Linked DNA regions of Homo sapiens: region 2 is linked to region 1. Evidence: promoter capture Hi-C in 16 types of primary human blood cells and fetal thymus (Javierre and others, 2016). All regions are on one chromosome and are shown on one strand. The core of a region is centred on a gene start or on the middle of the fragment in contact, and the rest is flanking DNA. Distances in the headings are between cores, read along the strand shown. Region 1 holds the start of MYO3B (myosin IIIB). Region 2 overlaps ERICH2 (glutamate rich 2).

Evidence for each region. Contacts are between HindIII fragments. The CHiCAGO score rates a contact against its expected background, and 5 or more counts as called.
Region 2: a fragment that was not itself captured here is called in contact with the fragment with the promoter of MYO3B in region 1 in 1 of 17 cell types (erythroblasts); the score reaches 6.0 in erythroblasts.

Annotation. Positions count from the first base shown.
Region 1 is chr2:170,176,897-170,181,475 of GRCh38, forward strand. It overlaps MYO3B (myosin IIIB), which reads left to right and starts at 1,251. Exons shown (of 35, transcript NM_138995.5): 1 at 1,251-1,393. The coding sequence starts at 1,392. RefSeq lists an enhancer at 3,433-3,662. The HindIII fragment of the contact is 3,074 bases long and covers 393-3,466 here.
Region 2 is chr2:170,797,377-170,801,955 of GRCh38, forward strand. ERICH2 (glutamate rich 2) reads left to right here. Exons shown (of 10, transcript NM_001290030.2): 9 at 665-736; 10 at 1,394-1,601. The coding sequence ends at 1,518. Among named protein-coding and RNA genes, the nearest start is that of GAD1, 17 kb to the right of the region's middle. The HindIII fragment of the contact is 2,209 bases long and covers 1,538-3,746 here.

The DNA of each region.
Region 1 (4,579 bases), core at 1-2,500:
ATGTGCAAATACTGTAGGAAATATAGGAAGATAGAACACATTATCCCCATTCTTAAGATTCTTATGACAGTAAATGGAAACACAAAGGCCATTATTGACTAGCGGGAGTAAGATCGCTGTCCTTTAAATCACCTTCTTCATATTTGCATTCTCTGTGTGCTGTTTCTTGGCTCTGGGTTTCTCTCCTGCCTCATCTACACTAATCCTTTTCACTTCTTCATTCAAAACTGTACCTAGATTTATCTGCTCCAGGAAGCATTCCCACTCAAGTCTTGGTCCTGGGTTGAACTGACTCCTCCTCAGAATTGATGGATATAGCTTATCCAGTGTTATTGCACAGTCTTCAACTATTTCACATGGGCCTATGTGTCATGTTAGCTGGCCAGAAAAGAAGCTTTCTGGGGACCCTACCCTCCTGTTTCTCACTTCCCCTCTCTCCCTTTTTTTTTTTTTTTTTTTTTTTTGAGATGGAGTCTTACTTTGTTGCCCAGCCTGGAGTGCAGTGGCAGAATCTCTACTCACTGCAACCTCCGTTTCCCAGGTTCAAACAATTCTCCTGCCTCAGCATCCCTGGTAGCTGGGATTACAGGCGCACACCACCATACCCTGCTAATTTTTGTATTTTTAGTAGAGATGGGGTTTCCCCATGTTGGCCAGGCTGGTCTCGAACTCCTGACCTCAGGTGATCCACGAGCCTTGGCCTCCCAAAGTACTGGGATTACAGGCGTGATCCACCATGCCCAGCACCACCCCCCCACCCCCTGCCTCCTCTTAACCTACTGTTCTGTATATAGCCCAGGGCATGCTACTGAATGAATAGTCACTGTTGAATAGTCACTGTTTCATTGCTTGGTAATTCAGATCAGAAACTCATGGTGTTTCCCCTGGGTTTATCTGCAGTTCAGAAAAGTGACCCTGACTACATGCTTTGATTATGCCCTTTGCTCACAAAAAGATGATTAGTTTTGATTGTGCAGCATTTGGAATGAAGGAATTTAATCTGGAATGAAGGAACTTTAAAAGGTTGGGGGAATATCACATTGGAACTGTTAAATGACATGCAAACAGGATCTGTGAGAATGGTTTTGATTCTGCTCTGTGTCCTGGTAGGAGACACTAAATAGATCAGGCTCACTACCAATTAGCATCATCTTAATCTTGCCTAATAGTGAAGCAAAGTCACCAAGGATTTGGTGGATTTATCAGCTCCTCCCACAATAGTCATCTGAGGCTAACACCTCTTGGAACCTAGATCGAAAGTCCTTTGGTAATGATGTGTCATACATTCTAGTCATCAAAGACACCATTTTCTGGGCCTGAAGTGTTCTGCTGGTTTTTGGAGGAATGAGAATCCAATCTCTCATAAGCCGGATTCAGAAAATAGGTCATCGATGTGAGTTGCAGTTATTTTCCTTCCAGCTTTCTTCTGTGCTTGCTTTAGATTGTTTTTCTGCAAAGGGCAGATGCAGCTGCCCTGGCTGGTGGGCAGTGGAGGGGGATGACAGCCACTCTGGCTTTGGGCCTCTGTCTGACATCACCCAGATTCCTGGGTCCTCTCAGTTAGCATTTGCCTTTTGTCTGGGTGGTTAAATTTCTCTTGAAGGAGTAGGATAAACACCCTCTTGAGTATTGCTTTTTACACAGACACACACCACACACACACACACACACACACACACATACACACAGCATAGTTCATAGTCACTTGATTTGCCACCTGCAGTTTATAATAGAATGGACCTGTGGGATTATAAACCACTTTATTTCTGCACAGAATTTCTCAGCTTGAGGCCAAATTGAAGGGCATTAGTCATCAGTAATTTGCAGATGTTTTTAATGTTTTTCACCCAAGAGAGGTTTCAGGCAGCTAAAGCTAAGATAAATTTCCTCATGCTTTGGTGGGGAAATGAAAAATCTGATCATTTAGTTAATCATTTGTAAGAGCTGTGGGTATGTATTGTTCCTTAGTGACTGCAATATCATGACAGATTTGTTAATTTGGTAACATGACAATGTAAACAATAGTAGATAAATTCCATTATGCCATGATTCTTTTCTTCCTCTCAGTAATTTTGTATATTCAAGGTTTAAAATCCATAGAACATTAGAGATGGAACTTAGAGATCAACCTAGAGATCATTGGATTCCTCTACCAAGCTCTGTCAAATGCCAGTCCTGAGTGTCTCCCCTGGAGCATCAGGATAAATAGCTAATGCATGGGGGGCTTAATAGGTGCAGCCAACCCACCATAGCACATGTTTATCTGTGTAACAAACCTGCACGTCCTGCACATGTAACCTGGAACTTAAAATAAAATAAAATTTAAAGAAAGGAAAAGAGTACATAATCAGTGGAACCATAAAGGTCAGTTCTAGTGGGAAAATTAGGAAAGGCCTCCTAGAAGAGAAGACATTTGAGCTATACTTGAACAGGCCCTATCTAGCAGCATCCAGATAGGTGGTTTGTGAAGAAGCCAGTTCCTACTCTTACGTCTTTACCATGGTTATGGTTTGAATGTCCCCTCCAAAGATCATGTTGAAATTTAATTGCCATTGTGAGAAGAAATGGGACCTTTAAGAGGTGACTAGGTCATGAGGGCTCTGCCCTTATGAATGGATTAATGCTGTTATTGTGGGAGACGGCTCCTAGTAAAAGGATAGGTTCAGTCTCCTTTTTCTCTCTCTTGAGCTCTCACTCTCTTGCCCTGTCTCACTATGTGAGACCTTCCACCATGTTATGATGCAGCAAGAAGGCCCTCACCAGATGTGGCCCCTTGATCTTGGACTTCCCAGCCTCCAGAACCATGAGCCAAATAAACTTCTATTGTTTATAAATGATGCAGTCTGTGGTATTCTGTTACAGCAGCAGAAAATGGACTAACACAACTATTATGCACTTGCTTATGTATTGGTTTGGAATTATTCTCTAATTTACTCACGCTTGTATGGTATGTGTTTCCTTATTCTGTGTATCTCTGGGTGTTATATTTAATATTTGTACAGATTTCCTCTGACATTTCACAGTTCAGGTTTCCGATTTCTTCTTTCTAAAATCTATTCTCTAGATTTGAAAGCATTCTATGATTTGTGATTCATATATACCATACTATAACATCTAGAAAAAATATTCTGAATAGCATACTGAGCAATGGAAATCTTCATCATGAATTTTCTAATGAGTATAAAATGTTGCTGGGCAAGTTTCTATTTAAATCATGCTCGCTAGGCTTGACTAACTGCAGACATTCACAGGGTGCATGCTGCAGAGTGCTTTACTTTCAACAAGGTAAGGCTGTACCTCCGTTAGGGACTAATTCAGGGTATTCAACAAGGGATCAGACTAGACCAATTTGGGGTTGTTAAGGAACTAAAACTAGCTCACGAGAAACTCAAATCAGCTCATGAAAAGAGGGGCTGCTTGGAAGAATGCAGTAGGAAATTTCATGGGTTACAAGGACAGACAGCAAAGCTTAGCAGGCCTCAGAGGGCCAAGATGTAGAATTCACAGTGAACCCACTCACTAATCCTCTTTGTCTCACTCTCTCAAGCATGGTCCTTTCAGTTTCTTATTTCTCTGTTTTCTTTTTCTTCTCAGGATGAGCCTCTGTTTCATATGGTTTCTGCTATCCTCTGACTTCAGCACACATTTGGGTCATAATAGTCTCCTCTGTAGAGATCTCTTATATGTTTTTTTAAAAAATATTTATTTTAAAAAGTAGAATAACATATGCACTAGCAAAAAACATGACTAAAAATGTGTAATAATTTTAAAAAGCATATAAATTTCTCTCTTTTCCAAACTCTCTGATTTTTACCACCTCTCCCTAAAGTTTAAGAGTTTCCTGTGTAGCCTTCTGGAAAAATGTATATAAGGATATACACATACATAGAGACATACACACAAATATACACATAAAATGACTAGAAATGCAAATATTCTTTGTATTTACACAAAAATTGTCCTCTCTATACACTATTCAACACTTTTAAAACAAATCTTAATTGTATATTTGGCATTCTTTCCATATTAATTGGCAGAAAATTTACCTTTTTTCTTTTTGGTGGTTACCTGTGGCTACATTGTATTTAATTTTATGTAACTATTATGATTTATTAGATAATCTCTCCATGATGATGGGCCTCTAGGTTGTATCTGGTTTTCTACTGAAAATAATACTATAGTGAACAATCTTGTATGTCTATCTACTTCAAGTTTAATAGAGTTTTAGCTCTTACATCTGTTTAATGATTAAAGTTAATTTTTATATGTGGTGTAAGGATAAAGATTCTTTTTTTCTTTTTGCATATTGCTCTACAATTGTTTTAGCACTGTTGAAAAGTTTTCCTTTCTAGTATGTAGAAATATAATTGAATTTAAAATATTGACCTTGTTTGTATCCTGTAATTCTGATAAACTCACTAATTAGTTCTAGTAATGTTTTTATAAATTCCATCAGTTTTTTAAATAGATAATCATGTAATCTTCAAATTAAGCCCATTTTACTTCTTCCCTTCTAATCTGGATTTTTAAATTTTCTTTTTCTTGACTTATTATTCTGGCTTCACCACAGTATTCAATA
Region 2 (4,579 bases), core at 1,392-3,891, 620 kb after region 1:
CTCCATATTTTGCAGAATTTGTACCTTCTTTGGGAAATGATTATGTTCATGAAACACTCTGGCTACTGTCCTATGAGGGAAGCTATATTGAGGTGATAGAGATTGCTTTCTATGGATAGGAGGTAGAAAATATAATGAGGGCTGGGTGCAGTGTCTCATGCCTGTAATCCCAGCACTTTGGGAGGCCGAGGTGGGTGGATCACCTGAGGTCAGGAGTTTGAGACTAGCCTGGGCAACATGGTGAAACCCTGTCTCTACCAAAAATACAAAACTTAGCCAGGCGTGGTGGCACACACCTGTAGCTACTCAGGAAACTGAGGCACGAGAATCACTTGAACCCGGGAGGCAGAGGCTGCAGTGAGCCAAGATCATGCCACTGCACTCCAGTCTGGGTAACAGAGCGACACCCTGTCTCAGGGAAAAAAAAAAAAAAAAAAAGAAAGAAAGAAAATATAGTGAGGATCATTTATCTTCCAAAGTGCAAAATAGAAGTGCAGAATTTTCTCTATTTGTACTCAGATATACCTGTGGTATAATTGTTAGTGTTTATTGCATTGTGCCTTTCACCTGCTCTGACTGACAGTTCAATTTCATTCTAAGGAGCCTGTTTGCTGCAACACTGAACGTTAATAACACACATTCTGTTGTCCATTTTCATTTTCAGTCCTAATCTATGAACCAGAAAATCCTGAGGCCAAGGAGTTTTTCACACTTATTGAAGAAATGTTGCTGATGGGTAATTTTAAAAATTGAAATTCCTTGTTTCTCATAGAACTATAAGCAGTCACTTTAAAAACCCATTATCCCGGGAGATTGTCGATACATCTTTAGGAAGTGGTTAAGAAAAGGCTAAATGGCTGTCTTAAATGGTTTAGTGAAACAGCTTGTCCTCTGTGGATGGTCACAATGACCCCCTTCTCTCTGTGGGATAGAACTGCCCGAGCAGAGCAGGCTCCCTGGGCACCAGGCATCAGGTATTGACAAGCAGAATATGCTAACACGGCTGCGTGTTAAAGGAATTACCCACAATTCCAAGGGAAGCCACACCCTCTCAATTACCTTGTCTCAATTCCTTTCAATGGACAATTTTACTATTGTCAATAAAATTCTATGATAGAAAGAATTCTATGAAATCGTTAAATAGAATTTCATTGACAATAGTAAAATTATTTTTATAGACTTATGTTTTAAATTATCAAAAACACCTGTATGCCAGTAAAAATACATTTCTTCTTTGTACTACCATTTGACCCTAGTGCAGTTAGCCAAGTCCAACTCAGTTCTTATGTTACAAATATATGTATTTCTTGGTAGAGGGAGGGGCAAGGAGAATTATTTTTCAGAGTGAAATATTAAGAAACACCTTAAGCAATCCTCTTCCTTTCTGTGGCAGAGAAAACTCAGAATCATGAGCAAGACGGTGAAAACAGTGATGAAGACAGCAGTGGTGAGAGTAAAGGAGAAAGCGATGAGGAGCTGAGTGACGAGAGCTCTGACGAAGGTGAAGATGGATCATGAGTGTTGCTGCAATACTTGAAGCTTCATGTATTTTCATTAATGTATACCATGCAAATATAAAGACAAGTGACATTTTAGTCTAATTCTTCCTTATTTGGTACAGTTTCTTTTAAGTTATCTATATTCTTGGCTTAAGACTCTTCCTAATATTTAGGCCTTAGCTCAATATATGAGTTACTCAGAGAGGAAAATAGTTGAAAACACTTACATAGGACTGTGTGCCAGGTACTGTTCAAACTGCTCTACACACATTGTATAATTCAACAACCCCATTAAGTACTATTATTATGCCATTCTACAGATGAGAAAACTGAGGCACAGACAGGGTGAATAATTTGTCCAGTATCATACACCTATTTGTTTGTAGAGCCTGGATTTGTGCATGGACATTATTGCCCCAGAATTCATATGTTTAGTTCCCTATAAATTACCACCATTTCAGGCACTTTTATATCATTCATCATTTGTTTGTTTGTCTAGATAATGGGATCTTGCCACATCAACCAGGCTGGTCTCAAACTCCTGGCCTCAAGTGATCCCCCCATCTTGGCCTCCCAAAGTTCTGGGATTACAGGCGTGAGCCACTGTGCCCAGCCCATTCATTGTATGTTCTTTACAGCATGTATCAGTGTCTGAAATGCTTGTTTAATTGTTCATTTCATCTTCTCCCTACCTGCCAGAGAATGTAACACCCATGAAGCAGAACTTTATCATTTTCCTCATAATATCCCAGCAACTGGACAAGTACCTGGCAAATAATAGAACACATATACCAAATTAATGAACAAATGAAGTGAAAGTTAGTGGAAATATTTATATTCTTTCATAAAACATTTACAAGACTTATACTTCTTACGTACCCATCTATTTTATTGTGCTGATTCTGTAGTTCTTGCTGGATTTCTGCCACTTTCAAATTAGGTTGTAAGGTAACTGTCTTAGTCTGTTTTTTGTTACTATAAGAAAATACCTGAGGCTCGGTAATTTATAAAGAAAAGAGGTTTATTTAGCTTACGGTTCTGCAGGCTGGGAAGTTGAAGATTGGGCAGTTGAATCTGGTGAGGGACTCATGCTGTTTCCACTCATGGCAGAAAGTAGAAGGGGAACAGGCATGTGCAAAGAGATCACACAGCAAGAGAGGAAGCAAGAGAAACCAAGGAAGCCAGACTCTTTTAAAAACCCACTCTCATGGGAACTAATCCATTCCTATGAGAGCAAGACCTCACTCACCCCCGGCCCCCAAATTAATCTACTCATGAGGGATTCAACTCACCCGCCTGACCCAAACACCTCCCACCTCCCAACTCCACGACATACTGGGGATCAAATTTCAGCATGAATTTTGTTTTGTTTTGTTTTTATGTTGTTGTTGAGACAGGGTCTTGCTCCATCACCCAGGCTGGAGTGTAGTGGTGTGATCATGGCTCACTGCAACTTTGAACTCCTGGGCTCAAGTGATCCTTCTGCCTCAGACTCCTGAGTAGCTAGGAATACAGTCACGTGCCACCACATCTAGCTAATATTTTTTAAAACAATTTTTGTAGAGACAGGATCTTGCTGTGTTGCCCACAGTGGTCTCAAATTTCTGGCCCCAAGTGATTCTTCCACCTCAGCTTCCCCAAATCCTGAGATTATAGGTGTGAGCCACTGCACCCAGCCCAGCATGAGTTTTGAAGGGGGCAAACCACATATAGACCAAAGCAGTAACTGAGGTAAAAGAAAAATATTCCTAAGTAATTTGTTTACAAATGTGCCAATCCGATTTGAGGGGAAGCATTTTGAATTTTTATCTTATGTCAGTACAGTGTCACAACATATCCAAAATGTTTGCGGCATTGCTTATTCTTTAGGCATTGTGGCCTGTTAACATTCAGAGGAAGAAAATCTGCAGCACCAATTCATAGGGATGACCAAAAGAAATGAAGATGGATATGTGTAATCCTCTAGTTACCCTTTCTAAATCTGCAGTAAACTCTCAGGGCTTCATGCATAAATAACCAAATAGCATCAGAGGTTTGACTGACAGATCTCAGGAATTACCTGTTCTTTTCATTTTCTTTTGGGTTTAATATTCATTCCACCATGGGAAAACCACCATATCTCAATCTAATGATGCTTACCTGATTAAGGAGAACCCTCCATAAGAAGTTCATAGTATACCCTAAAGCTGACATTGAAGACTAAATAAGTTACAATGAGATTTTAGTTGTCTTTTAAAGGAACAGGGAAGCTTTGAGGAAGAAACTGTCCGAATAAAAAGCCATGATATCACAGGCTATGTTATAGCTAAATCTAAGAATTTATGAGGCTTGTTCATTCAGGATCATCAGTACCCCCTGTCCATACTCTTCATCCTACTAGCCCTCACTAATGAATGAAATGGTAAGGTGTTGGCATGACCTGACAATAGGCACGTGTGTATAATAGGTATGTAGTAATAATAGCTTAAAAAATCTGCAAATTATTGTTTACATTATTTAACCTACTTGCTTCTCACAGTCATCTGAAGAGCATGCTATTATCCCCATCAATTACACAAACTGAATTTGACATAATTGAGGAATCTAAGGTTAAATATTGGCTGGGATGTTGGAATTCAGATGAGGAAACTGAAACTTAGAGATGCTTGGTTATGTCCCAGTATGAGAGATTTTGTGAACCTTAAACCCAATGTTCTTTGTTACCTCACACAGAGCTAGCATCTAGGAACTATTTAATAAGTCTGCCAATGAGTTATATCTGTGTAGACAGTTCAGTTCCAGACCTGTGCCTTCTTCAATAACTTTACAACACATTGTAATGATGTTAATGAACCCAAATATCCAACAATATGAGAATATGTAAGAATGCCTACTCAATAGACTTCAGAGGGGAACCCACTGAAAAAGTTTCATGTATTCAATAAGGTTTGTTTGTTTGTTTTTGTTTGTTTGTTTTGAGACGGAGTTTCACTCTTGTTGCCCAGGCTGGAGTGCAATGGTGCGATCTTGGCTCACTGCAACCTCCACCTCCCGAGTTCAAATGATTCTCCTGTCTCAGCCTCCCGAGTAGCTGGGACTAC